Linked DNA regions of Homo sapiens: all the other regions are linked to region 6. The links are contacts of gene promoters, found by promoter capture Hi-C in blood cells and fetal thymus (Javierre and others, 2016). All regions are on one chromosome and are shown on one strand. Each heading gives the region's core, a stretch centred on a gene start or on the middle of the fragment in contact. The rest is flanking DNA. Distances are from core to core; before and after follow the strand shown.

Region 1 (2,700 bases), core at 167-2,666, 900 kb before region 6:
TTAACTTGGATAATAGATAAAGTGGTTACTTATGAACTATGGAAAAGATGTTGAGAAGATTAATAGATTAGTCAACTACTGTCCAGGGCCACAGTGTCTGTATTTTTAAATAAAATATTATTGGAATGCAGCCACACCCATTTATTTATGTATCGTCTGTGGTTTTTTTCATACTACAATGGCAGAGTTAAGTCATTGCAACAGAGACCTATGGCCCACAAGATCCAAATTATTTACTATCAGGCCTTTCATAGAAAAAGTTTGCCAACCTTGAATTAGGAAAATAATTATAAAAAATTATCTTGAAAAAAAGTCTAAGAATTTTAGAATAAAGTTTATGTATTTGTTGCCAATTTGATTAATATTTTACCATGTATATCTATAGTTCTTCTCCTTCCATGTGCATATGTCTTTACATTATACTGTGCTTGAAGTGACATCATATTTGAAGAAAAATTTTCTATTAGTTGAAACCATGTGAGAATGTTATTTTTGTAAGAAAAATATTTTAGCAATCTTAAGTGGTTTTTAAAATATAGTATTGAGAAATACTATGTTTTAACTACATATACTGATATTTTTAACATTGTTGATGGGATTTGACTTGATTTATTTTACTTTGGGTGATCAGATCAAGTGACAGTATAGATTTATGTTTATCACCAGAAATATAAGTGTGCCATGTTGTTTTACCAATATCTTTAAGGATATAAGATTCTTTTTGTCCTATAAAAAATAGCATATGCTCTTCAAAACTTGATTTATACTAAATTTGTAGGGTAAATCTTTGGGGTTTAGGCTTTGGTGGAGGAAATTTATTTGCACCTCAGAGCACCTGGTGGGCAGGTGTGATGAACCAATTTCCCAAGTTTGTGTGCCCTGCACTCTCCAGTTTCAAATTTTCTTGGCCACCACAATGCCTAGAGTACAGCTTTGGCAAAAGATTCCTCCTTAGGAAGCAGAAGGTTCATTGTTTCTTTCTCAGTCACAAATGTAGCACTGAGCTATTCAATGTCAAAGCAAGAAGCTTAAGTCACTTTAAGCAGATTATGAGCTATAATAAGCCTAGGTCATTCTTTTAAACAATAGCCCTTTATTCACAAGTGTTTTTGCCTGTTAGCTAAAAAGTCAAATTTGGGAAACTGTTGATTGAGAAAAATATTGGGGTGTGTGTGTGTGTATGTTGATTATTTTAATTGAAAAAGTTTTAGGAATCCTTCTGACTTCGGAGAAAATATGGTTAGGGACATATTTTTGTATAGGGCATAATAATAAAATCATTTTTTTCTAATGAGAAGTTCAAGTGGGCACAGTTGGCTTGGGCAAGACATGCTAACCCATGCAAGTGTGAAATATGATTGAGAGTGACAGCCATACCTTTTTCTCTGCAGGAGCTACAGGTACACTGTGCAGAGGGGCAGGCCCTGTTGAACTCAGTGCTGCACACCAGAGAGGATGTGATCCCATCAGGTATCCCACAGGCAGAGGACCGGGCTTTAGAGTCTCTCCGGCAAGACTGGCAGGCTTACCAGCACAGGCTGTCCGAGACTCGAACTCAGTTCAATAACGTGGTGAACAAATTGAGGCTAATGGAGCAAAAGTTTCAGCAAGTAGATGAATGGCTCAAAACAGCAGAGGAGAAAGTTAGTCCCAGGACCAGACGTCAGTCTAACAGGGCAACCAAGGAGATACAATTACATCAGATGAAGGTACAACTCATGTAGATTCCTGATCTTTGTCAAAGCTACAGTTACCTTGCATAGTTTGTTTCATTAAGATATTTAGTAACTTTTATCCAAAGCTTAGGCTTTGCAAAATCTTTTTGATTACCTAGAAAGTTAAAATAAATCACAATGGAGCATTCCTCTTACAGCAATTATTTCATAAATTAGTCTTTGATACAAGGTAGTTTAATGTAACCATTTTATATTTTCTTTCCATACCCTATTACCTTGTTTTGTGAAGATACATGAATGCTTGTATTACAATAATTTAAGTTTATGGTTCTGATATGAAATTGCTCCAATATAGTTCATTGAAATAGTACTTGAGAATTAGTTTTATTCTAAGTTTTATGCAATTTTAGTGCACACATCTAAAATAATGCTTGAGCCTTAGGAATTTATTTTCATTATCCACCCATTTTAAAATTGATCTAGGTACAATAGGAGGTCTAAAAAATTATGCCACTTTGTTTTCATGTTTATTTATTTTATTTAATTTTTTTGGAGACAGAGTCTTGCTCTGTCGCCCAAGCTGGAGTGCAGTGGTGCGGTCTCAGCTCACTGTAACCTCTGTAGCCTGGGTTCAAGCGATTCTCCTGCCTCAGCCTCCCAAGCAGCTGGGACTACAGGCGTGAGCCACCGCACCTGGCCTGTTTTCATTTTTAATTTTTGAATTGAAGTGTAATAGATACAGAAAACTATCCAACTCAAGTGTACAGTTTGTATCACATTGTTGTAATATAATATTTATGAAGATAACATATGGCATTTTCAAAATTAAATCTCAAAATAAACATCTTCTAAACCTACACTGAAACCATTTCCTATAAGAAGATATACATTTGGCTTATTCGAATGGCTAAGATTGAATCTTTCCCTTCGATACTTTGTCATTTCAGAAGTGGCACGAAGAAGTGACTGCATACAGAGATGAAGTTGAGGAAGTGGGAGCTAGAGCTCAGGAGATACTGGACGA
Region 2 (2,753 bases), core at 1-2,500, 870 kb before region 6:
ATTAACTCTCTTTTAATGGTGTGTTTTCTCCCTACTAAAGAGGTTTTTTTAAAGACCTTTAACTACATAAAGAAATGTTTCTTCTCTTTAATGTCTTTTCTTCGGCATTTTATTCTAAGCAACAGTGTGAATGTTTGTTATCAAATCAAACCAAAGTCACTGGAAATTTGTAAATGCGAACTGTCTTTTTTCACCTTCCTTTCCATTGGATGTACTTAATGCTTGGTTGGCATACTATAGAGCTGTAGTCGGAAAGTTACAAAAAGAGTTAACAGATCATTAAGAGTCATTTATTAAAAGGTGCTTGGAAACAAATCAGTGTGCTTCCAACTGTTTGGGAGGATTTTCCATCTTATGAAGAAAAAGGCTTAGAGGAGTTTGTGTGCTCAAGGTCATTACGTTAGTTAATGGAGAAGATAGGATTCAAACTCAGCTGTCTACACAACCATCTATAATGAGTATTCTGTAAATATTTAATAAGTGAATTTCTCTACACACATTGCTTGTATCTTTGCTGGAACACAAGGAGTGCAGTAAATACTTAAAGATAGTGAAGTCAGGGAAAGCCAGGAGGGCTTGTAACTAATCGCACATCGCTGGTGTGACCAGGTGTTTCAATGCCAAAGCAGTTAAAATGTGTCTTGTCAACATCATTTGAGATTTTTAGTATCTATTATTCACTTTTAACCATGGCTTGTTTTGCTGTTCTTACTGATTTTTTTAGATCCAAGACAAAATAAAAGAAGTTGAGCAGAGCAAGGCCACGAGCCAGGAACTCAGCCGGCAAATTCAGAAGTTAGCTAAAGACCTCACAACTATTCTAACTAAGCTGAAAGCGAAGACAGATAATGTAGTTCAAGCTAAAACTGACCAAAAGGTAAGAAGTAGAATTTTAAAGGGTACTACTGAATGAATTAAATAGTTTTTGGAGTCAGTTTTACTTGGGGATATAGGATAAAAACCTTTTAGGAACCTTTTTTAAAACCAAATAGTAACAGCAGGTGGTAAAGAAATTTTGTAACTGAAGCAACACAGATCCTCTTACATAATTGATCATTATAATTGAACAGTATTAATAAATATACATGCATGAGTGTGTACGAAAGAAGAGCGTCAAAGGACTAAGTGATGATTTAGGAATACAAGTATATAAATTCCAAACTGAATTGTGTCCTTGGTAGCTAAATCTGTGTTCTTCCTCTGTTGATGAGTTCAGGGACTCTAATCCTTTTTGGGTGGGGCAGAAGGAAAATGTTAGCCTTCTCACTCAGCCTCATAGGAAATAAACACCAGCATTACAACATATCCTGCCCTGCCTTTCCAACCGAAGAAACAAAAATGACCTGATCATAGTAGAATTATAGTAGAATTATTCATTATAATATTTGGCTTTGACAAAAATCAGTCTGATCTCGGGAAACCTGGAGAAATTTATTTTCTGTACTCTAATGTTCTTTCATTTTGGTGACCATCAAGGTGCTGGGAGAGGAATTAGATGGCTGTAATTCAAAGTTAATGGAATTAGATGCAGCAGTACAGAAATTCTTGGAACAGAATGGCCAACTGGGTAAGCCACTGGCCAAGAAGATAGGAAAACTGACTGAACTTCACCAGCAGACCATTAGACAAGCTGAGAATCGGCTCTCCAAGCTCAATCAGGTATGTGTTCCGGGCCAGAAATCCAAATCGTGTAAGGCAGAAACTTCCATGTTCTGCTTTTCTCTTTTGAAAATAAATTAACATAAATAAAAAGATAAAATGGACAATGAGAGAGTAGTTTAGGTGTAGCTTATTTCATGCTACACTTGTGATCCTAAGACTTAGGTATAAACCAGCACTTACTTTATATCCAGCCATATGATAAAGTCACTGACAAAGGTGGTCCTACAAATGGACTTTGGAGTGAATATTTTGTAAAATGGAGAAGTATTTTGTAGAATGAATATTCACCCATTAACGTGTTTTATGAAATCAGTTTGGGGTGAATTCAAGTACCTTTAAGTAAGCTACATATATATCAGCTTACGTTGACTTAATAGATTCAGATTGCACGTCTGTAATAATTGTTGCATATAGACTAGACTTTTGAAATCGATTAATATAATCAGGGACAAGTTAAAACCAGGAGTTGGTAACCCATTAATTATAGTTTGAAACTTTGCCTGCTAGAATCCCCACTTGCCACCTCCTTACCCAGGGGAGGGTGAAGGAAGGGATAGAGGAAGGCCTGGCATGGTGGCTCATACCTATAATCCTAGTACTTTGGGAGGCTGAGGCAGAAGGATCACTTGAGCCTAGGAGTTTGAGACCAGCCTGGGCAACATGGTGAAACCTACAAAAGATTCAAAAATTTAACAGGGCATGGTTGGCACGTGCCTGTGGTCCCAGCTACGTGGGAGGCTGAGGTGGGAGGCTGAGCCCGTAAGATTGAGGCTGTAATTAACCATGATCCAGCTGCTGCATTCCAGCCGGGGTGACAGTAAGACCTTGGAAAAAAAAAAAAAAGAAAAAAGAAAAAAGAAAGAAAAAGAGGAATAATTCAATCATATTAAGAACTTGAGCTTTATCCTAAGGTCACTGAGAAAGCTTTGACAGATTTTAACAGGGAAACGATCTTTTGATACCATTGAATATCATAGGTATTATAATGATCAACCCCTAAGACTGTTGTGTCCAAAGAGAGAGAAGACTGATTTATAGCTCAAGAAACTGAGGAGTTTACATTTGTTACATTAATGTTACTGGTTTTTCAG
Region 3 (2,700 bases), core at 125-2,624, 750 kb before region 6:
AAAACTGGTAATTGGTCAAAATATTGTAAAAACTAATGTCAACTCATTCAAATATTGCTATATGAATTTTTTTTTCTTAAATCATTCCCCTAAAAGACAGGGTACATAATCTTTTTTAGTAACTTAAAGAAATGTCTGATCCTGCAGAAAATGTATTCAGTGCATTGTTTTAAATTGAGTAGTAACAGCAACAGATCTTCTCAGCTATTACATTATAAGTATAGATCACAGAATGTAGCAACTCTATAGTGCTTGAAAATGAAAGTTAAATTTAGGTGTCTGTTTTTAAAAATATTTCATCAGTGTGATCAGCAATTCAGGACAAAAAGAAAGGATAAGTTAGAGGTTTATGAAGTCAGTCTAAAGTAAAGAAGATCAATACAGTGATTAAACTTCAATTTAGGAAAAAAAAATTTTAAATCAATAAAATGATGAGTAGATGGCAGAAAGATTCTGCAGGCAATCATACTTTATCAGAAGGACTTAGCAATTTATCAAATTATGTGGAAGCAAATGAAATATGGGCAAACCTCATTTTATTGCACTTGTTTTAGTGTGTTTCACAGATCCTATGTTTTGTTTTTTGTTTTTTGGTTTTTTTTTTTTTTTTTACAAATTGAAGATTGTGGCATTGCTGCATAGAACAAGTCTACCAGCACCATTTTTCCAACAGCATGTGCTCACTTTATATGTCTGCATAATTTTGGTAATTCTCACAATATTCCAAACTTTTTCTTTACTGTTATATTTGTTACAGTGATCTACAGTCAGTGTGACCTTTGATGGTGCTATTGTAATTAGTGGCACCACACACTGTGCCCATAGAAGTCAGCAATCTTAATTCATAAATGTAGCATGTGTTCTGATTGCTCCACCAACAATGTTCCCAATCTCTCTCCTTCTCCTCTGGCCTCCTTATTTGCTGAGACACAACAATATTGAAATTAGGCCAATTCATACAGTGGCCTCTGAGTGTTCAATTGAAAAAAATCTCATGTCTCTCACTTTAAATCAAAAGCTAGAAATGATTAAGCTTAGTGAGGAAGACATGTCAAAAGCTGGAACAGGCCAAAAGCTAGGCCTCTTGTGCCACAAACAGCCAGGTTGTGAATGCAAAGGAAAAGTTCTGAAAGGAAATTAAAAGTAATACTCCAGTGAATGCATGGATGAGAAGAAAGCAAAACATCCTTATTGCTGATACAGAGAAACTTTGAGTGGTCTGAATAAAAGATCCAACCAGCCACAACATTCCTTTAAGCCAAAGCCTAATCTGGAGCAAGGTCGTAACTCCCTTTAATTCTGTGAAGGCTGAGGGAGGAGAAGTAACTGCAGAAGAAAAGATGGAAGCAGGCAGAGGTTGGTTCATGAGTTTTAAGGAAACAAACCATCTCCATAACATAAAAGTGCAAGGTGAAGCAGCAAGTGTTGAAGTAGAAGCTGCAGTAAGTTATGCAGAAGATCTAGCTAAGATCATTGATGGAAGTGGTTACCCTCCCTCCCTCCCTTCCTTCCTCTTTCCTTCCTTCCCTCTTTCTTTCCGTCTTTCCTTTTAACCTTCCTTCCTTCTCCCCTCCCCTCCCCTCCTCTCCCCTTCCTGACAGAGTTTTGCTCTTGTTGCCCAGGCTAGAGGTAGATCAAACAGCCCTATGTTGGAAGAAGATGCCATTGAGAAATTTAATAGCTTAAAAGAAGTCAATGCCTGGCTCGAAAGCTTCAGAGAAAAGGCTAACTCTCTTGTTAGGGGCAAATGGAGCTGGTGACTTAAAGTCAGTGTTCATTTAACATTCTGGAAATCCTAAGGCCTTTAAGAATTATGCTAACTCTACCTGTGCTCTATAAATAGAACAACAAAACCCAGATGGCACCATATCTGTTTACAGTACAGTTTTACTGATATTTTAAGCCCACTTTTGAGACCCACTGCTCAGAAAAAAAAGGCTTTCTTTCAAAGTATTACCACTTCTTGATAATGCACGTAGTCACCCTAGATATCTGATGGAGATGGAGATGTACAAGACTAATGTTGTCTTCATGCCTTCTAGCACAATATCTATCCTGTAGCCCATGGATCAAGGAATAATTTCAACTTCCAAGTCTTATTATTTAAGAAATACACTTTGTGAGGCTATAGCTGCCATAGATAGTGATTCCTATGATGGATCTGGGCAAAGTAAATGGAAAACCCTGTGGAAAGGATTCGTCATTGCAGATGGCAGTAAGAACATTCCCGATTTGACCTGAGGAAGCAGAACAAGATGGCTGAGTAGAATTCTCCACTGACTGTTCTCCCTGCAGGAACACCAAATGTAACAACTATCTACATAAGAAAGCGCCTTCATAAGAATAAAAAATCAGGTGAGCAATCACATTACCTGATTTCAACTTCATAGTACAGAAAGAGGCAATGAAGAGGGTAGGAAAGACAACCTTGGATTGCCCACACCACCTCTTCTTTTCGGTGCCCCAGCAGCAGCCACATGGCACGGAGAGAGCATCTGTGCATATCGAGGAAGGAGAGCCCAGCAGTTGGTCTGCATTGCATTGGAGCTCAGTGCTGCCAATACCAGGCAGAACTCAGCTGATGCCCACGGAGGGAGCATTTACACAAGACCTAGCCAAAGGGGAAGCTCCCATCCCAGCCAACAGAATCTGAGTTTTGACAAGCACTTGCTACCATGGGCTAAAATGCTCTGGGGTCCT
Region 4 (2,801 bases), core at 225-2,724, 880 kb before region 6:
GATGAATCTACTGAAATGCCCAATGGGAAAAACCATCAGAGCAGCTTTAGACCTAATACATTGATAAAACTTATTAGAGTTTCGCTGGGCGCAGTGGCTCACTCCTGTAATCCCAGCACTTTGGGAGGCCAAGGCGGGCGTATTATCTGAGGTTGGGAGTTCGAGACCAGCCTGACCAACGTAGAGAAACCCTGTCTCTACTAAAAATACAAAATTAGTTGGGTGTGACGGCGCAAGCCTGTAATCCCAGCTACTCAGGAGGCTGAGGCAGGAGAATCACTTGAACCCGGGAGGCAGAGATTGCTGTGAGCCGAGATCGTGCCATTGCACTCCAGCCTGGGCAACAAGAGCGAAACTCTGTCTCAAAAAAAAAAAAAAATTATTAGAGTTTCACAACACTGATTAAAACCATATAGCATAACTTGTAGACATTTAAAGTCTTTAGGAACCCTACATTTTTTTAAAAAAAATCTGCTTTTCCTGAAGCAAATAAAGAAGTACTTTTTAAATTTATGTATTTGTGTGTGTGAGTTTGCGTGTGTATGTGTGTGTCAAATGAGTGCACAGGCCAGCTGGAAAGTTCCATCTCTGATTCATTAACCATAAATGTTTCCATGTATGGTTGCTAACTTTTATCTCTGTGTTTTCTCAAGATTGAACAAAAGCTTGTCCAGGCCCAGAACTTAACTCAGGGCTGGGAAGAGATCAAGCACCTGAAGTCTGAGCTCTGGATTTACCTGCAAGATGCTGATCAGCAACTGCAGAACATGAAGAGGAGGCACTCTGAGCTGGAGCTGAACATTGCACAGAACATGGTTTCACAAGTTAAGGTGGGAATTAATTTGCCCCCAAGGGAGATAAAAGAGGCCAACAGAGTAGAAAACCTGAAATGTGTTCAGTGTATTCACTTCAATATGCCTGAGTGTCTGTCAATCCTTAGACATTAATACAACTCTTTAAGGCAGAGGTCCCCAAGCCCCAGGTTATGGACAAGCACAAGTCCATGTCCTGTTAGGAACCTGGCCGCACAGTGGGAGGCGAGCAAGCATTAATGCCTGAACTCCACCTCCTGTCAGATCAGAGGCCACATCAGATTCTCATAGGAGTGCAAACCCTACTGTGAACTGCGCATGCAAGGGATCTAGGTTGCATGCTCCTTATGATAATCTAACTAATATCTGATGATTTGAGGTGGAACAGCTTCATCCTGAAACCATCCCCCTCCAGCCCCATTCACGGAAAAATTGTTTTCCACAAAACCCATCCCAGGTGCCAAAAAGTTTGGGGACCGCTGCTTTAAGGAATAGCAAATCTGAACAAACATCATTTGGTGCCAGGGAAAACAGATTATAAAGTAGACATTCAAATATATTACTGAAGCTTCAGATGGCCACTTTCATCAGAAGACATTCATACTCTACATTATTCCTGAGAAAAGCAGGTGTGATTTAGTCTACAGAGTAGACTGCTTAGTCAGAAAACTCTGTGACTAAGCAAACATGGAACATTATTCTTTTTTTAGATTTTCATCACCATATTATGCTAAAACTGTAGGACTGTAAGCTTATCAATTCATTAGTTATATATTTGAGCTATATGTAATTAATTTAAAGTATAATATAAATGCAGTTTGTATTACATATTTATATATAATTTAAATAATTTAAAATATATAGGAAATTGTGGCCGGGTGTGGTGGCTCATGCCTGTAATCCCAGCACTTTGGGAAGCTGAGGTGGGCAGATCACTTGAGGCCAGGAGTTTGAGACCAGGCTGGCCAACATGGTGAGACCACATCTCTATTAAAAATACAAAAATTAGCCTTGCGTGGCACATGCCTATAATCTCAGCTACTTGGGAGGCTGAGGCACGAGAATCATTTGAACTTGGGAGGCGGAGGTTGCAGTGAGCCATGATCATGCCACTGCACTCCAGCCTGGGCCACAGAGTGAGACTCTGTCTCAAAAAAAAGGGAAAAAAGAAAATTATAAGTGTATTAACTTAATTGGAAGTTGGGTCAGATTTTAAATAAACTTAAAGATGTTTTTTCTCTGTGATTATGAGTCAATAATAATATATTGTCTACTGGAGTGCTGTTTGCAAGTACAGAGAAAAAAGAGAATAGGGATCGGGATAATAAGATTTATTTTTTCTCAGAAGCATGAACTCTTTTTTAAAAAAATTTGTGAACCATCCTAGAAATTTAATTTTTTAAAATGTATTTTATAAGAAAAGTTTTGTTTATTATAAAAGGCTTAGAAAATACAGAAATGTCTTAATAAGCAAATTTAAATCACAATCACTTATGATACTACCATTCAGAGATAATAAACAATGCCAATATTTTGCTGTATTTGTTTTAGATATACACATAATAAAAACATTCAAGATGATACTCTTGTTAACATTTTAATTGTGATTGAACCTAGCTTTAAGGACAAAATTTCATATATCAGTCAGGGGATTTAAGAGGTGTTTTTTGGGTAGTGGGAGTAAATGGCAATGGGAGTGAGCAGTGGGGAAGTATGGAAGTCCATGAACCAACCCCTTGGAGGAAACACTATCCAAAGAAATGATCCTCTGGCCACATATTGGGCTGGCAGAGATGGTATCTTAGAGGTTTCTTTTTGCTGTGTATGCAGGGAGTAGATGAATCTAAACCATTGCCTTTCCACTTTGCGAATGTACTCCAGCCTTCCCCAACTCTGTACATAACACCACTGCCCACCTGGTGACCCAAGCTACTTTGCCTTGTCTCTGACATTTGGAAGGTTTCCGTCAGAGGCGTTCAAACCAGAGCG
Region 5 (2,700 bases), core at 100-2,599, 770 kb before region 6:
TGTTGAAGGCAGCCACAAACAAGGACATTGCCGATGATGAGGTTGCCACATGGATTCAAGATTGCAACGTATGTTCAGGAGCTACCTTGTTTTCCCCACATGCCCTTCTTAGACTGCCCAAGTTTAGCTTTTGGTCTGTGTAAGCTTTGGTATGTCTTTCTATGTGAGACAGTTACCCAAAAATAACTGTCTTAGGATCAAAGAGCCTGCCTGATTTTCAGAACACAGGTGCACATGCATCAGACTAAGAGGTCTCCTCCCATTGTTTTATTTTTTAAAATGAGTTGTTTTCCCATTTTTCCTAGTGGAATTTAGTCAATGTGAAAGATTGAGGCTCTTTGTGTTTTCTAGGGTGGTCAATATAAGACATGACCATATGGGGAATAGTGTTCTATCTTTAAAAAATCTTCTGTTCCAGATGTTGTCCATTTACATTCATTAACTCCTATGTAAGCATCTACACAATAGTTTCATCTAAGATATTAATGGTAGAAAGAAGTCTTTCTCTCCTAATTTACTGGTATACTTCTTTTAATGGCTTTTTAATAATTCTCTTTTTCACTGTAGCTGCCAATAACCTACTTAAGGGTTTAAGGAACAGCTCTTCTCTTGTTTCAAGCATTACATGGCTCTTACTATTTGTCCTTATTTGTCTTTATTTTTAAGAGCTTGTTACGAGGATCTTTTTATAAACTTTTCCAAATCAGTTTATTAGAATTAGGCAAGCTATAAAAACTATGTAAATAAAAGTTTAACCTATTCTAATATCTTCAACCTGAATAATCACTTTAAAGCTAAAGATGGGTATTTTAAAATAAAGATAATACAGTGCTTTTTTCATCCACATAATTTGTGTGTACAAGAACTGTCATTTTCAATACTCCTGAATTGAAATACACCTTGTCTGTTATCTGTGTCAAGCGTAAAGAGCCCTTTGTTCTTCTTTCTCTCACAGAAGTCACTGCCTAGGCATAACATGACTGAGTGGGATACCAGCAACAGGTAGAAGAAGCAGTCACTTATTATCTCTCAATGATAGGATAGAAAGCAGAAACAGGGAGTTTCCATTGGCTTATATTTTTTAACCTGTAGGAGGGTCCCACAGAAAGTGGAGGCAAAGAGATCCCATGGAAAAGAATGGGAATACAGGCTACTCTCACCCCCTGCTCACCAAAATCATCACTGTGTTCTGTACCCTACTGAGATAGGAGGTTGCTGTACTTGCAATAATGTGACCACACATATAGAAGACACCACGGACAAATTCCTGGTGTGTATGATAATAATAGAAAAAGGAAAAATATAACATTTTGTTTTCAATTTGATACAAATTACATAAAGAGGCAGGAAAAAAACTGCCAAAATATTTCCAGTTATTGGCTCTACTCTTGGGTCATGTTTGTTTTTTTTTTTTTTCTTGTTTATGTATGTTTTTCTGCATTTCCCCAAGGTCCTGTAATGAACCTACATAGCTTTTACTAACAAAAGAGTAATTATATATAGCCATAGGTTATATGTGTATAATGTATGTTTAAAATATTAACATAGCATTTTAAAAAATGGGGTTCAGTGCGTGTTCATTTTTCCACAGGTGAAGTTTATTTAGCCTAATAATATGATCCGTAGGAATGGTGTGTTTCTACATGTGTAGCCCTTTGCCGATTGCTGTTTATGATAAGGAGTATCAACATGCTTCAGAGTGGGCATATTTTCACCTCTTCTAGGACCTCCTCAAAGGACTGGGCACAGTTAAAGATTCCCTCTTTTTTCTCCATGAGCTGGGAGAGCAACTGAAGCAACAAGTGGATGCTTCCGCAGCATCAGCTATTCAATCGGATCAACTCTCTTTGAGTCAACACTTGTGTGCCCTGGAGCAAGCTCTCTGCAAACAGCAGACTTCATTACAGGTACAGAGCTCCTATTTAGTATCTTCTGTATATTGGCTGTTCTCTAATATCTGGGCACAAACACAGAAAAAGAATTCCTTGTCATGGCAACAATGCCTCCTTCAAGACTCAAGAAAATAGCAAGTAAACAAACTTGGAAGTTCTGGTGGGGACGATGAAGGTGGACGTTTTGCGCTGTTCTCTGCCAAGGAATTTTAAAATCGGTTTAAGATGCAAGCCCCTGAACCAATGCCTGCCACCATGGCCTGTTCAATTAATAAACACTAAGCGGCTTTAATATAAATATTCGTGTTTATTTAACTCAGACTTTTACAAGAATCAGAAGATTTTTCAGACGTGTTGTTTGATCATGTATTTAAAGAATAATTTGAATTGTTATTGACTTATGGTGCATAGAAATAATTATAGTTTTTAGAAAAATTACATAAAGAAGATTTAAATTGTTATAGCTTTTTTTATAGGAACGTCTAGAGAATGGCAATTTGATACAAGAATATGAAAAATAATTTTAATATCCACTTGCCCTTTTACCAGACTTTATTAAAATACCAATTTTTTTTTTTTTAACTGAAATACCAATTTCTTTTGTGGAAAAAAAGGCTGGAGTTCTTGATTATGAAACCTTTGCCAAGAGTTTAGAAGCTTTGGAGGCCTGGATAGTGGAAGCTGAAGAAATACTACAAGGGCAGGACCCTAGCCACTCATCTGACCTCTCCACAATCCAGGAAAGGATGGAAGAACTTAAGGTAAGTGTGTTCAAATCTGAGTCCCAGATCTTTTACCATCTGTCTTC
Region 6 (2,824 bases), core at 117-2,616:
CAGAATTTAATTTTTAAAAATCATTAATAAAAGAAATCACTAATACCTCAGAGGGTGAGCAGGAACATTAAATCAACTGTCACTTGAATTTTCCCAGGCAGTAGGTATAGTAAGTCCTTTTTTGAGATTTTACTTTAATTGGAAAGTATTACTGTTTTCCTAACTACTACATTTCCTGCACCTCTGGAACAAAGTCTCTGGCCAGGACTGGAGTGAGGCCAGAAGCCCTAGGGCGCAAAATTGAAGGAGATACTCTCTATACTTGCATGACCTGAAACAGTGACTGCCTCAATTTGGGGCCATTGGCGCCACTTTGTTGGCCTCAACCTACTTTCTGCCCAGGTTTATTTTCTTCAAAGTGTTCTCGTCTTTTGCAATATTTTGAAGTAAGGACAAATTTCAAATATAAATTTGGCCATTCGATTTATGCAAATGGATGTTATTTGCACGGTCACCCACAACTTTACCCAAGAATCAGTAGCGTGACGACTATAAAGCAAAAAACTAGACAGTTCTTACTGTGAGATTACGATTTGATCAACAACAGGGAGAAACCCGTTTCTTAATAGCGCTGAGATCCCCAACTCTTACGCAGAATTTTAACGCCCCCAAAGCGCGTCTATTAAAGTGAATAAATAAAAAGTGACCGCCAGGAACAGACCGCGAAGCTGACCCCTGTCCTGATCCTTACGAGCAGCCGCCGCGGGCAGGCTCCCTCCCCGGGGCCGCCTCCCTTCGCCTCCGAGCCAGTCCGCGAAACCCGCAAAGGCGCCCCGGAAAGCCGCGCCCGGCGGCGGGACTCGAACGCAGCCCACCGGGGAGCGGGCGCCCTCCGCTTAGTCCCCACAGGCTCCCGGCGAGGCCCGGCTTTCCGCAAAAGTGGGGAGGAGAAAAGCTAGACTAACCCCACGTCCTGTCCTGAGAGAGACGCCGGGACGACAGCCATCACTTTCCGCGATCCCGGCCGCAAAGCTCGGCTGTTCAATCGCCGCAGAAACAGAGGCGGTACCGCCGCGAAGGAGGAGCTGAGAATGGGGGTGGTGTGGCTTTAAAAAAAAAGTGCTTTTGAATAAAGAAACTTTATTTGGTGCCCGATCAAACGGCAAACAGTGGCTCGCCAGAAGACCCAATCTTCCGGGGACGAAGGCGGGGCCAGCGGAGGGCGACTAGAGGAGCGGATATGGAAGCGAGCGAAAGCCGGAAGCAGGCAAGGGACCGGGAGGTCCCAGGGCCTAGGGAGCGGAAGAGGTCGCGGCGACGCGGCTCACGTGGTCAGACAGTCACGTGGCCCGAGTTTCTCCCGCTAAGTGGGACCAGAGTTCAGTGCGGCTGCGCAGTAGCGGGGGTGGGCGGGAGCGCCCTTCCAGGAGATGGGTTGGCTGCAGTAGTGAGAGGCTGGGGGTGCGGCTCTTTCCCTGCAGTCCTGCCGAGGAAGCGTGCGTCCCTGGCGCTTCCTTCTTCTCTTCCGGCGGAGAGGTTAGTGTATTGCCTTTTCTTTAGCAGCTCGAGTGGTCCGGCTTGGAGGTCTGCGCCCTGGCTCCTGGCCGCCCGGAACGTGTACAGTTACGGGTTACGCCAGTGCGGCTGTGACCCTTTGCCTCTTACCGTGATCTTTGGTCAGCTTAGCTGGGAGTAAAAAGCACTCAATTAATGAACCCTTTTTTTGAGCCAGTGCACCGCGGTAACTGTAGAAATCGATAAAATAATTTTGAGTTTGAGGAATTGAACGGCATACTCCCAAAGATGAGCGCCACTTAGCTCTCGAATCGTAGCCTAGCTGTAATCGATTTTCTTAATTGGTGTAATTGTTCTCTAAAAGTTGAAATGTGCCCGGGAACTGAGTAACTGCCTTGTATTTCATTTTAAAAATTCGATCGAATGCCTACTATGTGCTGGGCGCTATTGTCAGGAGATATAATAGGAAAAAACACAAATCCGTATCCTCAGGGAGCTTCCATTCTGGAAGGAAGACACAAAAATCTGCCCTTTCCTCTTATTTTTTTCCTTTAGCTTTGTGTCTCACGTATTTTACTGATTTACCTCGTTTTGTCTGTCACTCCCAATGCAAGGTTCAAAAGATTCAAAAGATAGGATTTTTGTCTATTTTATTTTCAGCTGTATTGTCAGCAACTAGGACAATACCTGGCACATGATAAGAACTGAGTTCGTTTGCAGTATGAATTAATAAACTAAAAATTAAAGGTGTGCAAGTGATGTTAAACAATGGAGAAATGCAAAGTGGAGGAAGATAAGAGAATGGATGCTGGTTGTGTTTTTTTTTTTTTTTTTTTTTATTGATCATTCTTGGGTGTTTCTCGCAGAGGGGGATTTGGCAGGGTCATAGGACAATAGTGGAGGGAAGGTCAGCAGATAAACAAGTGCACAAAGGTCTCTGGTTTTCCTAGGCAGAGGACCCTGCGGCCTTCCGCAGTGTTTGTGTCCCTGGGTACTTGAGATTAGGGAGTGGTGATGACTCTTAACCAGCACGCTGCCTTCAAGCATCTGTTTAACAAAGCACATCTTGCACCGCCCTTAATCCATTCAACTCTGAGTGGACACAGCACATGTTTCAGAGAGCACAGGGTTGGGGGTAAGGTCACCGATTAGCAGGATCCCAAGGCAGAAGAATTTTTCTTAGTATGGAACAAAATGAAAAGTCTCCCATGTCTACTTCTTTCTACACAGACACGGCAACCATCCGATTTCTCAATCTTTTCCCCCCCTTTCCCCCCTTTCTATTACACAAAACCGCCATTGTCATCCCGTCCCGTTCTCAATGAGCTGTTGAGTACACCTCCCAGACGGGGTGGTGGCCGGGCAGAGG
Region 7 (2,700 bases), core at 128-2,627, 840 kb before region 6:
ATTTGTAATAAATTTATTTTATTCTAGCTCTTTTGGGAGCCTTCTGTATTTATAATAGAGTATCTAATGTAAAATGTTTACACCATTTAAAGGCATTCCTGCTTTTCCTTATGGACAGTAATAGTATTACTTTACATGTATATAAAATAATAGAATTTATATAAGTGCATTTACAAGCATGATTTATTATGAACATATAGGCCTGCCTGTTATTTGCCAAACACTCCACAATGTGCTCAGGATGAAGACGAAAAGCAGTGACCCAGACAGCCCTTAGGGAGCTTACAGTGTGTGTGAGGACAGGCAAATGCTTACAAGAGAAGGTGGCAGGTAGTGTGGCCGAGGGCAGTACAGTGTTGTGGGAGGGCCTAGAGAAGGCACCTAAACTGGCTGGAGTCAGGCAGAGGTCAAGGATGGCCCCCTTTAGTTTTAAGGGAGGAGCACAGTTAGGCAGTTGGAGTGCAGTTGGGTCGTGTGAGATGAAGATTTTCAGGCAGAAGAAACCACCTGTTGGAAGCTGTGGAGGCGGGAAGCAAAATGGCCCATCCAGGCAACTGCAAATAGTTTCAGTGTAATTGGAGAAACATTGGAGGAGGAGGAGAGGGGGAAATGAGACTGAGAGGGATATGGGAACCACATCATGGAGGCCCTGAATGCCACAGGAAGGAATTTCAGCTTCCTCCAGAAGCTAATATTTAACCACTGAGGGAATTTAATGAGAAGCTGTGTACAGAACTGATACTTCTGGATCAATGTGGACAGGAGAATAGAAGTGTGCAAATTCAGAGCCAGGGGAGCTGTTAGAAACAGAAGTTACACAGTCTCATGCTTGGTCCACCCTGGTGATAAAAATGAGAGAAACAGGCCAGGAGGGACTACAGAGGCCAGGAGGGACTACAGAGGCCTGGACAGCTCCTGCTCCACATAAATGAGGCAATGTCTCCTCTGTTAGCATTACTTTAACAAAGACACAGGGCCCAGTGTTACCATACCTTGTGGTTTGCAAAACAAGCTACGAATGTGAATTTTAATGAAATCTCTCTATCTTCATGAAGAGAGATTTTAAACAATTTAAAACATTGTATAAGCCACACTAAATATGTGCAGGTCAGAGGCAGCCCACAGGCTGCCAGTTTGCAACCTTTGAGTTAGGAAGCTGTTACTGTAATGAGAACTTGAACCAAGGCTGTGGCCAGGATATGCATCGTTAGCACTCCATCCTCCCATAAGCAGTGGATGTTAAGGGGGAGGAGAAATCAGGAATAAATCCCAAGTTTATAGCTTAGGTGAGAAGACATTCCATTTATTGCAAGATGGATAATACTTCATTGTTTTTTCCTAAATTGGTTCCTTTTGGAAATGTTGACTTTGAAGAGCCTACAGGATATGCATGAACATCTGGATATGTGAGTCTGGAGCTTATCAATTCACCAATATTGGCGAGTGAGTGGAAAACAAACTATAAAAGAGAAAGAGTGAATGACTAGAAAGCTGGGAGGAGAACAGAGAGATTTTTTAGAAAGTGTTTCCGGAAAGGGTTTGTCAGTGCTATTGAATGCTAGAGGTCTGGCAAGGGAAGGGATGAAAATTCATCATTTTTTGTCAAAGAGAAGAAGCTGGTGAGAGCAAGCTCTGCAGTCATCAGGATCAAAGTCCAAACTGGAATTTAGAAGTGGATCGAGGGTGAGAAAGTCCCATGAAAATCACCCTTTCAGAAGTTGGATTATGAAATGAAAGGGAGAAAACAAAGAAATTAGGATGGAGCCTGTGTGTGCAAGTGCATTCACGTGTGACGATCCGTCACATTGTGAACTGTGGACTTTTTAGAAAATGTGATATCCTTCAAGAAAACAAATAAAAGAAACAGTGCGTGCAGGTGTTTTTGGATGGAAGAGAGAAAGTCAACAAAGCCAGAGAGGATGTTAATAGACCAAGATCCTTGAAAAAGCAGTTTATGGGATTCTCAGAGTCTGTGGGAGAGTCAGGTTTAAGCAGTGAAACTGGAAAGCATAAGATAAGGGTGAGTGTGAATATACATAGACTTTTGAAAATTTGAGAAGTTGCAGTATCTCCTTGACAGCTTGGATTGCATGTGTATGTGTGTGTGTGCGTGTTTGTGTGTGTATGTGTGTGTGTGTGTGTCAGTAACACACACACATGCATAAATGACTCTGGATTGAGTCATGTTTGCGGGTTTCCAAGTGGATGAAGTAAAGGTTAAAAGAGCAAGAGAAACAAGAGTCTTGGCAAGAAAGGGGTTTAAGTAACTTCAGACATAACTACAAGTCCAGCTGAGCGATGACAGCATACAAGGGTGTGGAGGACTGAAGTGGGGTGGGAGTGAGTGAGGATCAATGGATCTAAAGCTATTAAGGACATGAAGAGTAATCCACTCAAGACAGTGACAGGGTTAGGAATAAAGAGGAAGCAGTCTCCATGTTCCAATATCATCAATAAATGTTGGGGACTCATCTGGAGACCTCAGGAACAACAACAAAATGGGTAGAAGCTGTCATAGTCACTCAAATATTATTTCATATAATCCTCAATCCCACCCAAGATTGGACCAATGAGTGAACCAGTGTGCAAGATATAAGTTATTTGCTCCAATTATATAGCTACACAAGAGGAGAATTTCGCTAGAATCTCAGCTGTCCCAGTCTGAATTCATTCTACCGCATGACACTGCTACATTTGTTT

What was found. The method cuts DNA at HindIII sites, captures the fragments that hold promoters and counts their contacts. A CHiCAGO score of 5 or more calls a contact.
Region 1: a fragment that was not itself captured here is called in contact with the fragment with the promoter of RMND1 in region 6 in 1 of 17 cell types (megakaryocytes); the score reaches 5.3 in megakaryocytes.
Region 2: a fragment that was not itself captured here is called in contact with the fragment with the promoter of RMND1 in region 6 in 1 of 17 cell types (M0 macrophages); the score reaches 5.0 in M0 macrophages.
Region 3: a contact is called between a fragment that was not itself captured here and the fragment with the promoter of RMND1 in region 6, in 4 of 17 cell types (non-activated CD4 T cells, naive CD8 T cells, total CD4 T cells and 1 more). The highest score is 6.7, in non-activated CD4 T cells.
Region 4: a contact is called between a fragment that was not itself captured here and the fragment with the promoter of RMND1 in region 6, in 3 of 17 cell types (naive CD4 T cells, naive CD8 T cells and non-activated CD4 T cells). The highest score is 6.6, in naive CD4 T cells.
Region 5: a fragment that was not itself captured here is called in contact with the fragment with the promoter of RMND1 in region 6 in 3 of 17 cell types (non-activated CD4 T cells, naive CD8 T cells and naive CD4 T cells); the score reaches 6.4 in non-activated CD4 T cells.
Region 7: a contact is called between a fragment that was not itself captured here and the fragment with the promoter of RMND1 in region 6, in 11 of 17 cell types (fetal thymus, naive CD8 T cells, total CD4 T cells and 8 more). The highest score is 12.0, in fetal thymus.

The regions. Positions count from the first base shown.
Region 1 is chr6:152,353,668-152,356,367 of GRCh38, reverse strand. It overlaps SYNE1 (spectrin repeat containing nuclear envelope protein 1), which reads left to right. Exons shown (of 146, transcript NM_182961.4): 67 at 1,392-1,709; 68 at 2,624-2,700. Among named protein-coding and RNA genes, the nearest start is that of SYNE1-AS1, 26 kb to the left of the region's middle. The HindIII fragment of the contact is 774 bases long and covers 1,030-1,803 here.
Region 2 is chr6:152,316,987-152,319,739 of GRCh38, reverse strand. It overlaps SYNE1 (spectrin repeat containing nuclear envelope protein 1), which reads left to right. Exons shown (of 146, transcript NM_182961.4): 85 at 725-877; 86 at 1,477-1,659. Among named protein-coding and RNA genes, the nearest start is that of SYNE1-AS1, 62 kb to the left of the region's middle. The HindIII fragment of the contact is 2,676 bases long and covers 1-2,588 here.
Region 3 is chr6:152,196,896-152,199,595 of GRCh38, reverse strand. All of the region lies in intron 127 of SYNE1 (spectrin repeat containing nuclear envelope protein 1), which reads left to right. Among named protein-coding and RNA genes, the nearest start is that of SYNE1-AS1, 180 kb to the left of the region's middle. The HindIII fragment of the contact is 678 bases long and covers 1,036-1,713 here.
Region 4 is chr6:152,334,870-152,337,670 of GRCh38, reverse strand. SYNE1 (spectrin repeat containing nuclear envelope protein 1) reads left to right here. Exons shown (of 146, transcript NM_182961.4): 76 at 654-830. Among named protein-coding and RNA genes, the nearest start is that of SYNE1-AS1, 44 kb to the left of the region's middle. The HindIII fragment of the contact is 183 bases long and covers 1,383-1,565 here.
Region 5 is chr6:152,218,210-152,220,909 of GRCh38, reverse strand. It overlaps SYNE1 (spectrin repeat containing nuclear envelope protein 1), which reads left to right. Exons shown (of 146, transcript NM_182961.4): 119 at 1-68; 120 at 1,725-1,907; 121 at 2,507-2,653. Among named protein-coding and RNA genes, the nearest start is that of SYNE1-AS1, 160 kb to the left of the region's middle. The HindIII fragment of the contact is 2,405 bases long and covers 147-2,551 here.
Region 6 is chr6:151,450,668-151,453,491 of GRCh38, reverse strand. RMND1 (required for meiotic nuclear division 1 homolog) reads left to right here and starts at 1,366. Exons shown (of 12, transcript NM_017909.4): 1 at 1,366-1,476. DCPH1 (damage control phosphatase 1) reads right to left here and starts at 1,026. Exons shown (of 5, transcript NM_024573.3): 1 at 906-1,026. The coding sequence starts at 946. RefSeq lists a silencer at 669-788 and enhancers at 949-1,398, 1,589-1,638. The HindIII fragment of the contact is 8,083 bases long and covers 1-2,824 here.
Region 7 is chr6:152,295,058-152,297,757 of GRCh38, reverse strand. The region is part of intron 93 of SYNE1 (spectrin repeat containing nuclear envelope protein 1); the gene reads left to right. Among named protein-coding and RNA genes, the nearest start is that of SYNE1-AS1, 84 kb to the left of the region's middle. The HindIII fragment of the contact is 5,328 bases long and covers 1-2,700 here.